Regions from separate parts of the Homo sapiens genome. Here regions 2, 3, 4, 5, 6 and 7 are each linked to region 1. Evidence: promoter capture Hi-C in 16 types of primary human blood cells and fetal thymus (Javierre and others, 2016). All regions are on one chromosome and are shown on one strand. Each heading gives the region's core, a stretch centred on a gene start or on the middle of the fragment in contact. The rest is flanking DNA. Distances are from core to core; before and after follow the strand shown.

Region 1 (2,915 bases), core at 186-2,685:
CTTCAAATGTAGGTGTCAATATTCTATACCTGCTTATCTATTTTCTGATTTGAATGAGATATAAAGTGGAGTTGCTTAACTCCATTTATAACCATCCTACTACTTCAAAATATTAAAATGTAAGGATTGATGGGCTGATAGGTGCAGCAAACCACCATGGCACACGTTTATCTATGTAACAAACCTGCAAGTCCTGCACATGTATCCCAGAACATAAAATTAAATTAAACAATAAAAAAATAGAAATACAGATTCTGGAAATCAAGCTTACCAAATTAAACCTTCAGAGGTGGGGGGATGCATTTTAAACAAAAGTCCCAAATGCGTCTTACCATCAGGCTTGTTTGAAAAACACTAATCTAAGGAATACTAAACACTTGGAGAAGGACAAGTTCTTCTCCTGTGTAGACGTGCAATGTGGGTTCAGGGGATGACACTTCAACTCTATATAATGGTGTATTTTTACCTCCAGATCATATAGCCTTTCCCACCCTTGCTTTTCAAAATTAAAAGGATAAATTAAAAAATAATAATAAATATGAGAATATTTTAAAATACTTTCTTTAAGAAGTTTACTACCGTGGAAAGCTGGAGAGGTCCTAATACACTGAAAACTAGCTCACAGCTGCCAGTCAAATTATTTTTATCCAAATTAGCTTTGCACAAAAAGCCAAGTAGGAAAACCCATGCCAAAACCTCCAGCACTGGCTCTGTGTGCCTGGCAGGGGCTCATGCAGAGCCTTTAGAGCATTTAAGACTCTGGGCTATTTGCTTATGGTTCTGAGGTGTCTTTTCGAAAATGGGTTTTCTAGTCAAAATGAAACAAAAAGGCAGACAGCTGTGTGGATTTTCCCTTCAGAGTAAGCCAAGTGACGGAAAGGCCTGCCCGCCCCGCTGGGGACAACAGCGCCAGCACCCGCGCCGTCGGGTCGGGTAGGCTGGGGAGGTAGCGCAGGCGGCCTGGCCCCCAGACCACCCCGCGCCCCTGGCGGCCTGGCCCCAGCCCACCCCGCGCCCCCGGCGGCGGCCCCCGCCCTAGCGCCCGGTACTTGCCTGCAGGCGAGCGCCACCACAGTCAGCCCGCGGCTTTTCTGTCTTCCTTTCTGGCCCAGCGAGAGCGCCCAGGGGGTGGGCGTCTTGCCCCGGGCGTCGAGAGTTTGGGGCCGTCCCGTACGCGGCGCGCCGCAACCCAGTCCCCGCGACCACAGCAGCCTGCTCCCCACCGCGCTTGCAGAGCCCGGACGCGCGTGAGTCGGGGGCCCGCAGAGGCCTCACCCTTGGAGGTCGCCGCTTGTCAGGCCTGACTGCTGTTGGCGCCCACCCCGCCGCCCCCGAGGGGCCGCTCGAGGCCGGACTGCTGCTTTGCCGTGGCAGGCCCCACCCGGGACGTGGCGCTGCGGGCCGGGGCGGTCCAGCTGTGAGTCAGGGGTTAATGTGGCGGGATAACTCTCTGCAGAGGGAAGGAGCTCGCAAAGAAGGGTGGAGGAGGGGAAACCGCAATGGGGAACTGTCACCGAGGCTAGTGGACTCTCCCTGCGCTTTTTTTTTTTTTTTTTTTTTTGGCATGTACCCCAAAAGCCAGAGGTCGAGGCCCAGAAAAATCTGGAAAGGAATTCCACCGTGTTTGCTCCTTACAGACCAGACAAACCGTAGATCTTTCAGAGGTACAGCGACTCTCCTGGTTCCCTAAGATAGTCTCGACTTTTCCTTTCCCTTTGCGGCCCTCTCACTTGACTACTGCAGCCAACCATACCCCTGATTAGGGGGTGCAGCACATCAGCCTCTGCCCCCAAAAACTACCCTGCGAAAGATCCTTTTTCTCAGGTTCGTTCTCCACAACCGAACAGATTGGAACTCCACTGAATAAGAGAGAACAAAAAAGCAATTAGTTAAATGAAGCGTAAAGAAGCCTTATAAAGCCCCATTGCTGCCTCAGGCACCCAATCTAGTCATAACCTAAGAGGTCCAGTTCAGAAATCTCCCCTCCCCTTTTAATTCTCAGGCAATCCCTACTCCCTGCCAAAGGAGAACCCAGTTACTGAACATCGGATGAGACCATGGATAGTAAATTGGGAGTGAAGGTCCATACCTGGGTCTCAGAAGCACAGTACAGGTAAAGCTAAGAGTTATTTCCTCCTTCTCTTTCCCCATCCAACAACAGGATGCCTTACTGAAGGTAGGCACTTCAGGTAGTAATTACTTAGTGAAATGCCGCCAATGTAGTCAGAAATACCGTATTATGTACCGTGTCAACACAATTCATTATTCACGGAGTTGATTCTCCAACCACTGCACCTCCCAACAATTCTACCTGAACTCTTTGGGTAAGCAGTGGCCTCCTAAATCCAACTGATACTTTTGTTGCCCTCATTTTTCCTGGGAGTCTCTTTGGCGATTGACAAAGTCGACCATTGTTTCCCAACACTCTGTTTCCTTGATGTTGACAACCCCACTTTGCCTTTATGCTCATCCTGCTTGTTAAAATTCTTTCAGGCCTGTTGGGAGGCCGAGGCGGGTGAATCACGAGGTCAGGAGATCGAGACCATCCTGGCTAACACGGTGAAACCCCGTCTCTACTAAAAAATACAAAAAATTAGCCGGGAGTGGTGGCAGCTGCCTGTAGTCCCAGCTACTTGGGAGGGTGAGGCAGGAGAATGGCTTGAACCCGGGAGGCGGAGCTTGCAGTGAGCCGAGATCGCGCCACTGCACTCCAGCCTGGGCCACAGAGTGAGACTCCGTCTCAAAAAAAAAAAAAAAAAAAAAAAATTCTTCTTTCAGTTTCCTCTGCCTGTTCCTCTTTCTCTGGCAACCCTTCAAAATCAGAGCTTTTCACATTTTCCCACTGAAATACCACCAATGACAGATTCCATAAACACGTACTTCCCTATTCATCACTTAGGTTGCATACATAAAAG
Region 2 (2,915 bases), core at 155-2,654, 500 kb after region 1:
CCTTTTATATCATGCTACCTCTGGCAGCTGTAATGCTATCTTTCTTTTTCATTCTGAGAACTGTTTAGGATACTGTGGCCAAAATAGCCAGATGTGAAAACAGATCATGCCATTTAAATTGTAACAAAAATATATTACACTGACTTATATGATGAAAAAAGGTGTACATGCAATGACTTTAACTGTTTTATGGTAACTTAGGGTCCTACCCACATAAACTGTGGGGTGCTTGCAGCAGAACACATGTTGGTAGTACAGTCAGCCCTCTGTATCCCTGGATTTCGTATTCATGGATTAAACTCGCAGCAGATCAAGAATATTTGGGAAACAAAAAATTCCAAAAAGTGAAACTTGAATTTGCCATGTGCTGAGTACTATGTTAAATCCACAGAAATGATGTGTTGTCATTGTATTAGTTATTATAAATAATCTAGAGATGATTTAAAGTATAAAGGAGGATATGTGTAGATTATATTTAAATACTGTGTCATTTTATATGAGGGACTTGAGTATCTGCAGTTTTGGGTGTCTGTAGGGGGTCCTGGAACCAGCCCTCGCTAGATACTGAGGAAAGACTGTGATTCTGAATTCAAAGAGGGTAAGATCAATGAAATAATGTTAAAAAATCAAAAGGTGTTTATTTTTATTCCATTTTAAAAACTTCTTTTTTAAGCTTTATCGAGGTATAATTGATAAACAAAAATTATGCGTATTCAGGGTGTGCAATGTGATGATTTGATAGCTGTATACATTGTGTAATGATTACCATAATCAAATTAATCAACATATCTGTCACCACACAGTTACCACCTTTTATGTGTGGGTGAGTGTGTGCGTGAGGACATTTAAGATCTACTGTCTTTGAAAACTTAAAGTAAACAACGTGGTATTATTAACTATAGTCACCATGCCATACATTAGATTCCCAGAACTTAATTTGTTTTATAGCTAAAAGTTGTACCCTCTGACCAGCATCTCCTCATTTCCCTCATACCCCATCCCCAGGCAACTACCATTCTACTCTCTGCTTCAGTGAGTTAAACTTTTAGAGTATGCGTATAAATTAGCTCATACAGTGTTTTGTCTTTCTGTGCCTGGCTTATTTCACTTAGCATAACACCCTCCAGGTTCATCCATTTTGTCACAAATGGCAGTGTTTTCTTTTTAAAGGTTGAATAATATTCCATTCATTATCTGTTCATTTGTTGACAGACACTTAGGTTGTTTCCTTATCTTGGCCATTGTGAATAATACTGCAGTGAACATGAGGGTGCAGATATCTCTTCAACTGATTTCATTTCCTTTGCGTATAAACCAGGAGTGGGATTGTTGGATTGTATGATAGTTTTATTTTTAATGTTTTAAGGAACCTCCATACTGTTTTTCATAAAGGCTGTACCAATTTACATTCCCACCAACACTGTACAATGGTTTCTTTTTCTCTGCTGTCTTCCTAACACTTGCTGTCTCTTGTCTTTTTGATAATAGGTATTTTAACGATGTAACGTCATGTTGTATTATGCTTTTGATTTGCATTTCTTTGATGATTAATGATATTGACCACTCTTTTATATACCTGTTGATCATTTTTATGCCTTTTTTTGGTGGGGAGAATGTCTGTTCAGTTCCTTTGTCCAGTTTTTAAATGGGTTATTAGTTTTCCTGCTATTGAGTTTGTGAGTTCCTTATGTATTTTGTATGTTAACCTCTTATACATGGTTTACAAATACAGGTTGGGTATCACGTATCTGAAATGCTTGGGACCAGAAGTGTTTTGGATTTTGGATTTTTTGAATTTTGGAATATTTGCATATACATAATGAGATGTCTTGGGGATGGTAAGCAAGTCTAAACACTGAATTCATTTATGTTTCAAATACACCTTATATACATAGCCTGAAGGTAATCTTACACAATATTTTAAATAATTTTGTGTATGAAACAAAGTTTTGACTGTGACCTGTCATATGAGATCAGGTGGGAAATTTTCTGTTTATGGTATCATGTTGGAGTTCAAAGAGTTTCAGATTTTGGAGTATTTTAGATTTTGGATTTTTGGATTAGGGATGCCGAACCTCTGTTTTCTCACATTCTATAGGTTGCCTTTTCATTTTGTTAAGTTTCCTTTGTTGTGTAGAAGCTTTTTAGTTTGATATAATCACACTTGTTTGTTTTTGCTTTTGTTATGTATTTCATATCCAAAAAGTGATACGCTTTTGGTGTCCTATCCAAAAAATCATTGCAAAGGCCAGTGCTAAGGAGCTATTTTTCCTGTATTTTTTTCTAGAAATTTTATAGTCTCAGATCTTTCATTTAAGTCTTTAATTCATTTTTAGTTAATTTTTGTGCATGGTATAAGATAAAGGTCCAGTTCCTTTTTTTTTTTTTTGCATGTAGATTTTCAGTTTTCTCAGTACCATTAGTTGAAAAGGCTTTTTCCCATGGTGTATCCTTGGTGCCCTTGTCAAAGACTGGTTGAAAGACACTTCTTTTTATCTCTTATTGTTTAGATTTAATAAATGAGAGGGCCAATTGAAAAAAAAACTTGACATTAATAGCTTTTTGCAGAATATGATTGAAGGGATTTTAAAATTTCATCTCATCTCACTTTAATACGTCTGTTTTTTGCCATTTATTTATTTTTCTTTGTATAAATTCATGGTGTACAACTGAAATTTTGTTACATGCATAGATTTCATAATGGTGAATTCAGGACTTTTAGGTAATTTCTCATTATCCACCCTCGCAGCACCTCCTCTCCCTTCTGAGTCTCCATTGTCTGTCATTCCACTTTTTACATCCATGTGTACACATTATTTAGCTCCCACTTATGAGTAAGAATATGCAGTATTTGTCTTTCTGTGTCTGACTTGTTTCACTTAAGATAATGGCCTCCAGTTTCATCCAAGTTGCTG
Region 3 (2,915 bases), core at 197-2,696, 470 kb after region 1:
AAGAAGTCACTATGTGTAGCCTATAATTAAGGAGTAGAGAGTTATGCTTCCCTCTCTTCAGGGATGGGTATTTATATAAATTATTTGTAATTTTACGCAGGAAATTTTGTCTTCTCTCCCTTCTATTTACTCAATAATTATTCAATTATTTAAATAATGGAATAATTTATTAAATTATTTGTTTAGATCAGTATGGACTTGTGGATATTCATTTTATCATTTGGTTTTAAGCTATTAGGAGTTTTTTTCAGTTGCGTTCTATGGTCCTTTAACATATCTGAATCATTGTGAGTTTTAAAATTTTATTTTAAATTTTTAGCACTTCCTTACTCCCTGCACTACAAGGTGTCCCAGGCTCATTTTGTACTTACTGCCCCAGTCCTAGAATCAGCCATTTCTCCAACAAGTCCAGGTTCTTTTTATTGGAGAATATTAGAAACCAAGATTAGGGCACTAGGTGTGATTGAGTTAATAGGCTTTCACACTAAAGTTAAACCTCAAATCAAATGTTCCACAATTATATATTTACCAAGTTGACCTTGATGAACAAATTCTGCCATACAAAAATAAGGAAAAGTCATGAAGGAATCAAAAAAAATTTTATACACACATTTGAAACACAGTATTTTACCATTAGTTTGTCGAAACATGAAAGTATTGTGAAGCGTCTTGAATTCTGGAAAGACAGCTATGAAAATACAGTATTTCAACTCATTTTTCAAGATCTCAATAAAACTTACTAACTTCAAAGTAGAATAAATCAAGGAATCAAATAAAGTTATGTGTTTAGGGAAACACTATTTCTCTTTGAATGTAGTGTTCACAGATTTCTGCATCCTTAGACATACCATTTAACTAAATTGGCTGTCCAACCAAGAGCTTAAATCTTCACTGTAAAAGGGTTTGAAATAGTTTTATTTTATCTATCCCAGGCACCCATATGATACTGGGTATGATGAGGTCTCTAAAGAAGTCTAAGGATGGATCTATGCCTTTACAACAGTTGGCTAATGAAGAAAGGCAATCATATAGAATTCCTTGCTAAAATGTTTGCTTCATATAAGAAACCCTCTCAAAGTCCAGAGAAGAAGGTGAGTAGGTGGTGTACATTTTAGAAAGTGTGAACTGAGTTGGATCTTGAAGTCTTGAAGGTTTGGTTTCTCCACACAGATGCTATTGGCACCTTGGGTGGATAATTCATCATTGTGTGAGACTGTGATTCCTGCTATGTATCAGTAACATTTGTAAGGCATTGGAACAACTCAAATACCTCTACATATTCCCTTCTGGAGATGTAGGAACTGTGGGGAGAGTATATTACAAAGAAGAGACTACAAAACTAGACACAACTGAGAATGGGCATGGCATGCTGGAACAATGAGGAGACTGGGTAGAGTCATTCAAATAATCTGTATTTACCTATGGCTCTAAGGGGCAGATTGGAACCTCTCGAGCTCTTTGGCTTGTTAGAAGCACCACTTTGTCTTTAGCAATGCCACGCCGACTCTGATCCTGAAGGAAAGTAACTGTACCCATCTTGTTAATTTACTAATCTAAGCAAACTGTAAAGAAAAAACTTTTTAAAATCTTGTGTAAATAAAAAATAGGCAGTTACTCTGAAGAGATATATTTGCCTTTTTCCCAAATGCAATAATATTAATAATTTACTTTAGACCTTTCATTTAACACACAAAAATCTTAAGTATATTTTGATAATAATAAATTAATATTATTTACAAATTACCATAAGAATGATGTTAATGTTAGGTCCCACAAAGAATTTTTCTTGGCATGTAAAATATGTTAGTACCTAATATAAAATATCCTGGGCACATAACTAATTATCTTGGTCTTCATGATCTTTTGAATAGTAACTGATGGTAAAAATAATTAATTCTCATCATTGGAAGTTCAAGTAATACAGAGAAGGTAAAAACTTACAGAAAATCTCACCAGCCTGAAATAATTGTGGACATTAACCAAACCTAATTTTAGTAATCACTGTATGCATATTTATATCTAGATCTCAATCTATATGCTATATATCTAATATATGTGATACAGATATATAGAAATGATTTTATTAAAGTGGAAAAGAGAAGAAAAAAAACTATAGAAATTGCTGTATATTAAAGAGTTGTTTCCTTAACAAAGAGATGTTTGTCCCTAAAATATTCCTCTAAGATGGGGGTCACAAACTTAAATGCCTTTAGGCATAGGGACTTTATGACTCATGCAGCAAACTATAAAAATTAAGTTGCTTCTATTGTTTTCAAAATAAGAATCTCTCTGGTTACATTGTCTATGTCATCACTGAGTAGGTTAAACAAAATAAGCAAGCACAGTATTTCTATAGCCCATGAGCCATATTCAGACTAGAGTTCTCTAGAGTGCCACCTCTGCAAAGTTTTAAAGAGATTATGGAAACATTTGGGGCCTGGCATGGTGGCTCATGCCTGTAATCCCAGCACTTTGGGAGGCTGAGGCGGGCAGATCAAGAGGTCAGGAGATTGAGACCATCCTGGATAACATAGTGAAACCACATCTCTACTAAAAATACAAAAAATTAGCCAGGCGTGGTGGCAGGCACCTGTAGTCCCAGCTACTCAGGAGGCTGAGGCAGGAGAATGGCATGAACCCAGGAGGCGGAGCTTGCAGTGGGTGACAGAGTGAGACTCCAACTCAAAAAAAAAAAAAAAGATTATGGAAACATTTTAAGATGTTATAATCAATTTATTTTTTAAATAATGTATTTCATTTTAATTTTTTAAATTTTGTTGGGACATAGTAGGTATAGATATTTATGGGGCACTGTTGTATTTCTTTAAGAGAATGTTTGATTCATAGCATTTGCTTTGAAAGATAAAGAAATAAGTACTCTTAAAACTTTATTCCACCCAATTTTGTCCATTTAA
Region 4 (2,915 bases), core at 232-2,731, 450 kb before region 1:
AGTGAAGTTTCGAAACAGACCATTGATTCCTCGTTCTCCAAGATCCACATCATGCTCACAGCCAGGGCAAGGGAAAACAGTTGTCCTCGGGGTCAATGAATTGCGCTTCCAGCCTGTGTAATTAGTAAGTCTTTGTTTAGTTATAGCAGTAGGAAAATGATTAGAATGAAGAAAAGAGGAGTCATGTCTTAGAGACATATCTACAAATGTATCACAAAAACAGTATCCGAAGTGGCTCCACGTGAAATTTGTATTGTGAAAATGTTTTTAAAAATTTTTCCTTAGTATACAAAAGACAAGCCCAAGTTATCAAATCAAACAGCAAATCAAAAAGGAAAATATTCTACAGTAAACCCACATAGAATCCATATTAAATCAAACATAGATATAAAGATAAAACACGTAATACAATACTACATGGCGTTAAGATCTTTTAAAATTATATAATTAGCATTTATAGTTACTTTTATACACCATATCCAAAGACATTTAAAAGAACAGTCTTTGCTGACTGACAGGAAATGAATCGATACATAAAAGAGCAGGGGTCCCTAGCACAAAGCCCATGAAGAGGCCCAGGCAGATCCATGAACTATTTGAAATTGTGCACAAAATATTCCACCTATATACATATACATATTTACTGGTAAAAACCCACAGCTTTTATCAGATTTTCAAAAGAATATGTGATGTGACCACAAAATTTTTAACAACACTACAATAGAAGCTTTCCCACGTAGTATTGTTTTATCTGGAAAAATTCAGTAGGGAAGATCATTAGTTAATTGAGTGCAATCTATAGAAGAGTGAAAAATTCATTCATAGACCTATAATTTAGTGATTTTTAAGAGGGACCAACCATTTAATAACTTCTTATGACCTGAAACAAAGAATCATTAAGATTACTTAACTCAGTAAGCCAAAAGTTACCCCAAAAACACTACAAATAATTTTACAACATATATAAAACAATGAATGACCTTAAACATCACATTTTTGTTCAGTATTATCCCAATTTTAATAAATCAAGAAACCAATGCATGACAGTCCTTACCCATTGGTTCACAGGAATCCAGGGTTGTCCATTTACGACAGGTGCATGCATATCACATTCCCTCATTTGTAAATCTGTTCTTTTTTTTTTTTTTTTTTTTTTTAGATGGAGTCTCACTCTGTCACCTAGGCTGGAGTGTGATCTCGGCTCACTGCAACCTCTGCCTCCCAGGTTCAAGCAATTCTCTGCTTCAGCCTGCCAAGTAGCTGGGATTACAGGCGCCCACCACCACACCTAGCTAATTTTTATATTTTTAGTAGAGATGGGGTTTCACCATCTTGGCCAGGCTGGTCTTGAACTCCTGACCTCGTGATCCACCTGTCTTGGCTTCCCAAAGTGCTGGGATTACAGGCGTGAGCCACCGCGCCCGGCCGTAAATCTGTTCTTAAGAGTATGCAGTCTTAGTTGCCCCAAAAATAACTCCCTTAACTTAAACACAAACTTCTTAACCTACACCTTCTTTCATACTATCATGTATCCAATACCAAAAATGAATGGCTGAATTTGGTATACCACATTACAAAAGGTCTTTAAACAGCTACATCAATATACCCTTTGCATATAACTGTCATCACTCAAAAGAATATCTTAAAAGATGTCTGACATGATATCAGTTCAGGTAAAATTTAGCAATCAGCCCATAATAATACTTATTGGAAGTGATGTTAATAGCATGCTATATGGCATTGGGCCCCAAAATCTACTTATACAACAAACATGCAGAATATTTTTAATATCTTCATTTAAAGATATTTTAACGTTTACATTTTTAAACATTAATGCATACAAAAAAGTTGCCCCATAAAAATTTGAAAATCCTAAAATATATTCAGATAATAATTCTAAAAGCATGCAATACAATCCAAACTCTTTCACACCACAGCAGGCATATCATGAAATAAGCAGCAAAGCTACTTTTAAATCACATGCCAATGAAAATTTCATTTAGGAAAGAAAACAAGCCAAACAATTCTGGAGATGGTATGGTGCAGTGGTCAAGTTTAAACAAATAGAAATTCATATATAATCGCAGGTTTCCACACATGAAATAGGTGATGAAAATTTAGATAAATAGAAAACTAATCTCAAAAGTGTTAAAAAAATGAGTTATTTTTGGTTTTATGAAGATTATGACCAATTAAAGTAACGGGATAATGAAAAGTAAATAATGACAACAAAATCAAGCTTTAACATGTATGCTGGTGACACCCAGAATTGGGTCCTCAGAAATTTGAAAAAAAAAAAAAAAAAAAAAAAAAAAGTTCATCCCTTTTCTGTTTACCTCTGCTACTGTGTTTTTACAGTGTAAAAAAAAAAAAAAAAAGGTGTGAAACACTAAACTTAAATCAGACATTAAATTAAGACATGTAATTTTTCACAACTCGTCCAAATAGATATCTTGGCTATCTTTCTAAACAGATCTTGAAAGCTCTTTTTTTTTGAGATGGAGTCTCGCTCTGTCGTCCAGGCTGGAGTGCAGTGGCGCGATCTCGGCTCACTGCAAGCTCCGCCTCCCGGGTTCACGCCATTCTCCTGCCTCAGCCTCCCGAGTAGCTGGGACTACAGGTGCCTGCCACCACGCCCGGCTAATTTTTTGTATTTTTTAGTAGAGATGGGGTTTCACCATGTTAGCCAGGATGGTCTCGATCTCCTGACCTCGTGATCCACCTGCCTCGGCCTCCCAAAGTGCTGGGATTACAGGCTTCAGCCACCGTGCCTGGCCCAATGTGCTTAAATATTTCTTACAAATGCTAAAGAACTTTTATTTCATCTGTCTTATATTTCTTTCATTGTTTTCATAAAAACAAACAGTAGATGTTCAGAGCAATAAAGAAAATGAGAATCTTAGGATATTCTGGGA
Region 5 (2,915 bases), core at 223-2,722, 450 kb after region 1:
GAATATTTTTCTACCAAATACAAGTAAGATTCTGACTTATTGTATTTGATCTGTGGGATTATGAAATGCATGAATTCTCCTTGACAAAGCAATGAAAGATTCCCTCTTTTTATTATTTATTATTTAAAAATATCTCCTCTGAAATATAATAGTACCCATGTGTCTGGACGTTAGCAACCTTAAGAAACAGAAAAATAGACTATAATCCCGAATTAGGAATCGATTTTTTAAAAAGGCTTCAATAGCCGTGTAATAGAGTAATGGCTTTAGTAGGAAAGATGATTTAAAAGTAACAAAAATGTATCATTAGAAGGATAAATAATATAACCATGGGAATGAACTCAGGATATTAAATGGGCACAGGACTATCATCAAGTACAATGATTGTTAGTGCATCGTAAGTATAAACTAAGTAAACTGGCTGGGCACGGTGGCTCACACCTGTAATTCCAACACTTTGGGAGGCCAAAGTGGGTGGATCACTAGGTCAGGAGATCTAGACCATCCTGGCTAACACGGTGAAACCCCGTCTCTACTAAAAATACAAAAAATTAGCTGGGCGTGGTGGCACGCGCCTGTAGTCCCAGCTACTTGGGAGGCTGAGGCAGGTGAATCGCTTGAACCCAGGAGGCGGAGGTTGCAGTGAGCCGAAACCATGCCACTGCACTCCAGCCTGGATGACAGAGCAAGACTCCATCTCAAAAAATAAATAAATAAATAAATAAAATAAAAAATAATAAACTAAGAAAACTATAAAGGAAAATGATAAATTTAACTACATTAAAATTAATATGCCCATTAAAAACTCCATAAAAACAGTGAAAGACACACCATAAAGTAGGAGAAGTTATTAATAACATAAAAAATCAGTATCCAAAATATATGAAGAATCTTACAAGTCAATAAGAAAAGTGTAAATATCCTAATAGACAAATTAATAAAATGATAAACAGACATTTCATAGAGGAAACAACAAATAAACATTCAGGATACCGAACCTGATCAGCACATACATAGAAGTGCCATACTCCCCAGGGAGTCAGAATTTAGTCTGTTGACATCAAAGCTGATGAAGCTATGAGATATGAATTAAGTGTAAAAAGGTACAACCACTATTTAAAAACAGCTCAGTGTTACCTATGTGCCTTATGACCTAACATCTTCACTCCTGAGTATAAATTAATATCTTGGAAAAAGTCTAATACATGTATAGGGAGATATGTTTAAGAAGTTTCATGGCATCACTGAAATAGCAAAGAAAATAAACTGTTAATAATCCAAATGTCCATCAACAATGGAAAAGATAAATAACTTGTGGTATATTTATACAGTGGAATACATATAGAAGTGAAAATATTTGAACAGCTACATGTACCATCATGGAAGAATCTCAACTCATGATCAGACTAACAAAGCAAATTACAAAAGGAAAATCACAATATGTTTAGGGATACCTACATATGTGTCATAACTAAGACCAAAACAAGGAAGTGACTTTATATATATACATATATATATATAATTTTTTTTATTATACTTTAAGTTCTAGGGTACATGTGCACAATGTGCAGGTTTGTTACACATGTATACATGTGCCATGTTGGTGTACTGCACCCATTAACTCCTCATTTACATTAGGTATGTCTCCTAATGCTATCCCTCCCCACTCCCCCAACCCCACAACAGGCCCCAGTGTGTGATGTTCCCCTTCCTCTGTCCAAGTGTTCTCATTGTTCAATTCTCATCTGTGAGTGAGAACATGCGGTGTTTGGTTTTTAGTCCTTGCGATAGTTTGCTAAGAATGATAGTTTCCAACTTCATCCATGTCCCTACAAAGGACATGAACTCATCCTTTTTTATGGTTGCATAGTATTCCATGGTGTATATGTGCCACATTGTCTTAATCCAGTCTATCATTGTTGGACATTTCGGTTGGTTCCAAGTCTTTGCTATTGTGAGTAGTGCCGCAATAAACATACATGTGCATGTGTCTTTATAGCAGCATGATTTATAGTCCTTTGGGTATATATGCAGTAATGGGATGGCTGGGTCAAATGGTATTTCTAGTTCTAGATCCCTGAGGAATCGCCACACTGACTTCCACAAGGGTTGAAGTAGTTTACTGTCCCACCAACAGTGTAAAAGTGTTCCTGTTTCTCCACATCCTCTCCAGCACCTGTTGTTTCCTGACTTTTTAATGATCGTCATTCTAACTGGTGTGAGATGGTATCTCATTGTGGTTTTGATTTGCATTTCTCTGATGGCCAGTGATAATGAGCATTTTTCATGTGTCTATTGGCTGCATCAATGTCTTCTTTTGAGAAGTGTCTCTTCATATCCTTCGCCCACTTGTTGATGGGGTTGTTTGTTTTTTTCTTGTAAATTTGTTTGTGTTCTTTGTAGATTCTGGATATTAGCCCTTTGTCAGATGAGTAGATTGCAAAAATTTTCTCCCATTCTGTAGGTTGCCTGTTCACTCTGATGGTAGTTTCTTTTGCTGTGCAGAAGCTCTTTAGTTTAATTAGATCCCATTTGTCAATTTTGTCTTTTGTTGCCATTGCTTTTGATGTTTTAGACATGAAGTTCTTGCCCATGCCTATATCCTGAATGGTATTGCCTAGGTTTTCTTCTAGGGTTTTTATGGTTTTAGGTCTAACATTTAAGTCTTTAATCCATCTTGAATTAATTTTTGTATAAGGTGTAAGGAAGGGATCCAATTTCAGCTTTCTACATATGGCTAGCCAGTTTTCCCAGCACCATTTGTTAAATAGGGAATCCTCCCTGACTCATTTTATGAGGCCAGCATCATCCTGATACCAAAGCCTGGCAGAGACACAACAAAAAGAGAGAATTTTAGACGAATATCCCTGATGAACATCAATGCAAATATCCTCAATAAAATACTGGCAAACCAA
Region 6 (2,915 bases), core at 283-2,782, 430 kb after region 1:
CTGAGGAGGAGGCTCTGGCCAGCTGCCGCTGGTATCTCTGTGGGGAACATACTAAGCTGGTCTGGGAGACTGAGGGAAGAATCCTGAGAACTGGAATTCAACAGCCACTGCCGGAAGGAAAAACCATTGCTGGGGTGATACCGACGGAAACTGGAAGCAAACAGGAAGGAGCAAGCAAGCACCTTCTTTCTCTTCCAACCTTCCACGTCCCTCAACACCCCTGTTGGCAGAGCTGGCAAAGCCAAAATGTGGTTTACATAGTCCGAGTCCTAACATCACAAAGCAGAGCATTAAAAGGTGGTTTTGGAATTGAGAGACAATGGCTTACTCACCAACTCAGGTCAGTATAATTGTTCTAACCTCAACACGTGGGGAAATAGGGGCTTAAGGTGCTAGCAGAAGCAGAAGCTAGAATTTGAGACCCATGCTCTCTACTGCTAAACCCCATTCACCTTTGGGTTTTCCTTTTATTTATTAATTTAGGACATGGTTAAGATACCATTACACTCTGAGAAGCCTCTCTGAAAGCTTCTAAAACACATACATCTTCCGTAGACCAGAAATAATACAGTGTCAAGTGGGAAGCTCCTGGAAATAACAGGCAGTGCTTCGTATAGAAATGGATGTCCAAACAAGGAAAATTTCCAAGATAATTATAAGAATAGTTAAATTTGGACTCGTTCTGACAAGAAACTTTAGGTAAATGCATTTAAATAGATTGTTGCATCTACTTTGCAAACATTATTTAGACATGTTTTTAGGGGCTTATAGAAGCTCTAAAATGACTAGCTTCATGCGGTCAAGTCACTGTTTGGGTTTCTACTTGCATTGAAAAATTATAGAATGTGCAGGAATTACAACCTAAGGATATTTTATTGATATAAATAAACTTCATTTGCAAAAATATAACCTAGAAATATGCTTACATGTCTCCTGAAACCTCACATTAGCTGAAATGCTGTTTCCTGTAGTTTCCATAAACCATTGTAACTATAAAACAGATTTAAGTGAATCCAATGTTTAAAATACCAGAAATTTAATATATCATAAATTCCAGTTTCAGATGTCAAATTTGTGAAAACATCAGTACTAAATTTATTGATGCATTTTGAATATTCTTTTTGATGTTTTCCTTTAAAGGCAATTAAAGATTTTTTTTTTTGCTTTTTATATGTTTTTCCATTTTTAATTTGCAACTCTCCTCCTCTGAGCAGCCCTTTTCTCAGCAGTAAAATGAAACCACTGCATTAGGGGTTTTCTCTAGGGACCTCTTGGAAGTATTTTATGGTTTCCATAATTGTTGATTAAGTATAGCCAGTTCTTGACTATGTCAGGTACAAGGGGTGGAGCTACTCTGGGACAAAGAGAAGGCCCAGCATGGCTCTTGCCTCCCATCCCATCCCCTGCTTTAAATAGGAGAGATTCACTTTTTTGGTTTCATACATTGAAGTTTATTTAGAAAAAAATGGTAATAACAATGTTTGAAACACATGGACTATATGGTCTCCAAAGCCCTCTCCAGATGTGACACCGCATTGACACACAGCTTGTCCACTTTTCGAGAATGTTCTGCATAGTCCATCTTGCCCTGAAGCCTCTGCAGGTCCCACACATCCTGCATATCACAGAGGCCCCTTCCTTACCTCTGAAATGACTCACCTTTGACTATAACAGAGATAAACAAATCATACCTAGTGGAGACGAAGATTCTGGAAGCAGTGTCCATTTTGGCTCATTCCTGGTCACTAAGATACATGCCCTTCACATGGCATTCTTCAAGTAACAAGAGTTTTTTTGTTTGTTTGTTTGTTTTTAACTGTTTTAATTCTGGATTAGGGGTTTTGTGCCATCTGCTGGACATAGTTATTTCACACATACAAGAGAGTTCTACATTATTCTTAGAAGTATTTTTAAAATATTAATAACTTTAAAAATTGTGAAATACATGCTTATTACAGGAAATGGGTAAATATAGGAAATGATAAAGTATAAAAAATCCAGAGATACCTATGATTACTATCTAACTGTTTTCTTACCTGCACACAAGAATGTACTTTGTTTGGTTTTAGTTGGTGGTTTTTATTTTAACACCAATTTGAGATAAACACTGCATTGATGTAGGTTATACAATAGCAGGAAGAGGGGATGCATTGCAAATGTAAGGTTCATGGAGAGAAAATGCTCTCAGTCACTGCTGTGTTTGTGAACCTTAAGGTTTGCATTGCCTATCATGCACAGCAGGAATATTATGCTCCAATTTAACAGGGCAAGGTAGGAGGAGAGGTAGGGATGGCGGAGTGGGTTAGAACCTGAAAAAAAAAGTGCCTTATATTGCTCAGACTCCTGGGAAACAGATCACTAAGTTACTATTCACAGTGAAAAATGTGCCATTGATCCTTTCTATTAGTGGGTATGCATGAGTACCAATGTCCTAGTTGCTGTGGCAGATGATGCCATAGAAATGAAGAGTCATATAGATCCTGCCTTGAAGTGGGAGAGGGCTGATACGGGAGACAAGTGTGTAAATAACTATGAACAAGCTTGCAAACATAGAAACAGAGGTGCTTATTCTAACTGGGCAATGGGGATGATTACACAATGGTGATTTTAGACATACACTGGGGAAAGCGTAAGTGGGTCCTGGAAGTGGGAACATTCTTGCACTCTAGCTAGAATTTAGTGTCAGGCTAATGGAAGGATGCGGTGACAACGAGGCTGGGAAGGTAGAATTAGGTCATGTCATGCAAGGCCTAAAATATCATGCTGAGGACCACAAAGGACCACAAAGGTTTTGGAGGAGGAAAGTGACACAATGCAGACAAGAATTTTAAGGAGAATAACTTCAGTAGCGAAGTGTGGAGATTAAAAAGACTCAAGGCAGGGAAACCAGGTTAGGTTAGAAGTTGGCCTGGGAA
Region 7 (2,915 bases), core at 202-2,701, 440 kb before region 1:
CCATCATTCGAATCTCCATCACCAGTGCACTGATTTAGGACTTCGGTGAAATCCTAAAAGTAGATCATGTCAATAAAAATTTTGAATACAGCACTAAGAGTAAGACTATATTCTTATTTAGTGAATTAACACTGTGACTGACAAATAACAGGAGCTATTAAACACTAGCTGAGTCAGTATGTTCATGGAAACCTAGTTGGTATCTATTTACAAGCTGAATTATCAGCAATTTTCTACATTAAATGCGACCATTCTTCATTAATGCCTGAGGTTCTCATGCTGTATATCAAAGCAATTATCTTAAAAGCACTTTATGAGTATGTATTAGTCCATTTTCACACTGCTATAAAGAAAATTACCTGAGGCTGGGTAATTTATAAAGAAAAGAGATTTAAGTGACTCACAGTTCCACATGGCTAGGGAGTCCTCAAGAAACTTACAATCATGGCAGAAGGGGAAGCAGATCTGTGTTACGTGGTGGCAGGTGAGAGAGAGCAAGAGCAGGGATACTGCCTTACAAAACCATCAGATCTTATGAGAATTCGCTATCACAAGAACAGCATGGGGAAAATCTACCCCTGTGATTCAATGGCCTCCCACCAGGTCTCTCCCTCAACACCTTGGGATTACAATTCAAGATAAGATTTGAACCTAACCATATCATTGTGGCCCTGGCCCCTCCCAAATCTCATGTCCTCACATTTCAAAACCAATCATGCTTCCAAACAGTCCCCCAAAGTCTTAACTCATTTCAGCATTAGCTCAAAAGTCCAAGTCCAAAGTCTCATCTGAGACAAAGCAAGTCCCTTCTGCCTAGGGGCCTGGAGAATCAAAAGCAAGTTAGTTACTTCCAGGATACAATGGGTGTACAGGCATTGGACAAATGCTCCCATTCCAAATGGGAAAAATTGGCCAAAACAAAGGGGCTACAGGTCCCATGAAAGTCTGAAACCCAAAAGGACAGTTATTAAGTCATAAAGCTCACAAGTGAGATCTCCTTTGACTCAATGTCTCTCATTCAGGGTACGCTGATCCAAAGGGTGGACTGCCATGGCCTTGGGCAGTTCCACCCCTGTGGCTTTGCAGGGTACAGCCCACACACCACCTGCTTTCATGGCTGGCATTGAGTATCTGCAGGTTTCCCAGGCGCATGATGAAAGCTGTTGGTGGATCTACCATTCTGGGGTCTGGAGGACCATGGTCCTCTTCTCAGAGCTCCCCTAGGGAGTGCCCCAGTGGGGACTCTGTGTGGCGGCTTATATCTCACATTTCCCCTTTGCACTGCCCTAGCAGAGGTTCTCCATGAGAGCTTCGCCCCTGCAGCAGACTTCTGCCTGGATATCCAGGTGTTTCTGTACATCCTCTGAAATCTAGGCAGAGGTTTCCAAACCTCAACTCTTGACTTTTGTGCACTGGTAGGCCCAACACCATGTGTAAGCCACCAAGGCTTGCACCCTCTGAGGCAATGGTCTGAACTGTACCTTGGCCCCTTTTAGCCACAACTGGTACTGGAACAGCTGGGACACAGGGCACCAAGTCCCAGTGATGGCAGCTGCAGCCCATCTGGAGCAGCTGCTGCAAAGATGCTGGCTGCAGTTGGGAAGGCACAGCCGGACCTGCTTGCTCTGCAGAGCCAGCGGGACCCAGGAACAGGCAGGAGCCCTTCTCCCTTCCGAGTTGGTGCGGAGGGAGCCCCATGCTCCTGGGTGCAATTGCAGCCACCCAGCTGTGGACTAGGGCATTCCTATGCTCTCGGGGGCCCAGGATGCCTCTCTTCCCCCACATGCTCAGAAGTGCCTGCTCCTACTGCTTGGCCTCTCCCCATTCCCAGTGCCCACTCTGACTTTGGAGAAAAGCTGTGGCCAAGCCCGGGCACTGACATGACCTGGCCAGGTGTGTGTGTGCTTGAGGAGATGCTGACACACCAGCCCCCTGCCACCTCAGCTCCCTCTGGACTTTGGGCGCTGATGAACGTGGGAGGGAGGCCAAGGGCAGGGCTGAGGGTGACTCAACGTGGTACTGCAGGCGTCCCTCAGCTAAAACAGTCTGGGCACCATGAACAGCAGTGGGAGGGAGACAGGCTCCTGGGAGGAAAGGGACAGGTCCCTGCTGAAACCCCACCTTCAAGCCAGGGATAGCCTGAAGCCTAGGGTCCAGGCTGCCAGTTCCACTGACTGGAGTGAAAACTTACAGTGAATTTTCCAGGCCCACCCATGGCCACCCATGGGCCAATCAGCACACACTTCCTCCCCTCTGAAGCCCATAAAAACCGCAAACTCAGCCAGACTCTGGCAGATGATAGGACGACCTGCCTGCAGGTAAGAGCTACCCACTTGGGTCTCCTCTCCACTGAGGACTGCACACTCGACAAAATGACCTGCCTGCAGAGAGGAGGTACCCACTCCGGGTCTCTTCTCTGCTGAGAGCTGCAGTTGTCGGGAGGAACTGCCTGCAGAAAGCAGCTACCCATGACAGGTCTCCTGAGAGCTACTCTTTTGCTCAATAAAGCACCTTGTTCACCCTCCAGTTGTCCATGTAGCTCATTCTTCCTGGACACAGTACAGGAACTCTGGACCTGCCAAATGGCAGGACCAAACAAGCTGTAACACAAACTGTGTCAAATACACCCTGCTGCTCGCCATGTTGTGGGTGACGATGAGGAGACAAGAGAGGAGAGAAGAGCTGCAGCCCTTCAGGGAGCCTGGACTTAGGAGCTCCCCAAGCCAGGGCTGTGACATCCTCTTTGTGGCTCTGCAGTTGCCGGCATCTCCAAGTTTCTGGGTGCCACCATGTTCCACAGTGCTTGTAGTGGGAGCCACTTGTGGTACACCTGTTCCAGCCACAGCAAGGAGCCGGCGCCCATACTGGCACCTGGACCTGCCTGCCCCGCCACAGCCACCATGCCTGGCTGTGCA

Evidence for each region. Contacts are between HindIII fragments. The CHiCAGO score rates a contact against its expected background, and 5 or more counts as called.
Region 2: a fragment that was not itself captured here is called in contact with the fragment with the promoter of TICAM2 in region 1 in 14 of 17 cell types (erythroblasts, M0 macrophages, naive CD4 T cells and 11 more); the score reaches 11.9 in erythroblasts.
Region 3: a contact is called between a fragment that was not itself captured here and the fragment with the promoter of TICAM2 in region 1, in 17 of 17 cell types (monocytes, naive B cells, naive CD8 T cells and 14 more). The highest score is 21.3, in monocytes.
Region 4: a fragment that was not itself captured here is called in contact with the fragment with the promoter of TICAM2 in region 1 in 6 of 17 cell types (naive B cells, M2 macrophages, monocytes and 3 more); the score reaches 7.6 in naive B cells.
Region 5: a contact is called between a fragment that was not itself captured here and the fragment with the promoter of TICAM2 in region 1, in 14 of 17 cell types (total CD4 T cells, naive CD8 T cells, M2 macrophages and 11 more). The highest score is 11.5, in total CD4 T cells.
Region 6: a fragment that was not itself captured here is called in contact with the fragment with the promoter of TICAM2 in region 1 in 8 of 17 cell types (monocytes, naive B cells, total B cells and 5 more); the score reaches 9.4 in monocytes.
Region 7: a fragment that was not itself captured here is called in contact with the fragment with the promoter of TICAM2 in region 1 in 10 of 17 cell types (monocytes, total CD8 T cells, total B cells and 7 more); the score reaches 8.3 in monocytes.

What each region holds. Positions count from the first base shown.
Region 1 is chr5:115,601,044-115,603,958 of GRCh38, forward strand. TICAM2 (TIR domain containing adaptor molecule 2) reads right to left here and starts at 1,436. Exons shown (of 2, transcript NM_021649.7): 1 at 1,054-1,436. All of the region lies in intron 3 of TMED7-TICAM2 (TMED7-TICAM2 readthrough), which reads right to left. TICAM2-AS1 (TICAM2 antisense RNA 1) reads left to right here and starts at 1,112. Exons shown (of 3, transcript NR_109875.1): 1 at 1,112-1,417; 2 at 2,003-2,113. RefSeq lists enhancers at 758-837, 786-1,308 and a silencer at 928-1,427. The HindIII fragment of the contact is 4,479 bases long and covers 265-2,915 here.
Region 2 is chr5:116,098,144-116,101,058 of GRCh38, forward strand. The region is part of intron 4 of COMMD10 (COMM domain containing 10); the gene reads left to right. Among named protein-coding and RNA genes, the nearest start is that of COMMD10, 15 kb to the left of the region's middle. The HindIII fragment of the contact is 1,467 bases long and covers 672-2,138 here.
Region 3 is chr5:116,071,692-116,074,606 of GRCh38, forward strand. No RefSeq gene overlaps it. Among named protein-coding and RNA genes, the nearest start is that of COMMD10, 12 kb to the right of the region's middle. The HindIII fragment of the contact is 6,657 bases long and covers 1-2,915 here.
Region 4 is chr5:115,147,282-115,150,196 of GRCh38, forward strand. It overlaps TRIM36 (tripartite motif containing 36), which reads right to left. Exons shown (of 10, transcript NM_001300759.2): 3 at 1-113. Among named protein-coding and RNA genes, the nearest start is that of TRIM36, 21 kb to the right of the region's middle. The HindIII fragment of the contact is 1,512 bases long and covers 726-2,237 here.
Region 5 is chr5:116,054,131-116,057,045 of GRCh38, forward strand. It overlaps ARL14EPL (ARF like GTPase 14 effector protein like), which reads left to right. Exons shown (of 4, transcript NM_001195581.2): 3 at 1-23. Among named protein-coding and RNA genes, the nearest start is that of ARL14EPL, 23 kb to the left of the region's middle. The HindIII fragment of the contact is 5,559 bases long and covers 1-2,915 here.
Region 6 is chr5:116,035,782-116,038,696 of GRCh38, forward strand. The region is part of intron 1 of ARL14EPL (ARF like GTPase 14 effector protein like); the gene reads left to right. Among named protein-coding and RNA genes, the nearest start is that of ARL14EPL, 4.8 kb to the left of the region's middle. The HindIII fragment of the contact is 2,012 bases long and covers 527-2,538 here.
Region 7 is chr5:115,164,034-115,166,948 of GRCh38, forward strand. The region is part of intron 1 of TRIM36 (tripartite motif containing 36); the gene reads right to left. Among named protein-coding and RNA genes, the nearest start is that of TRIM36, 4.4 kb to the right of the region's middle. The HindIII fragment of the contact is 4,022 bases long and covers 1-2,915 here.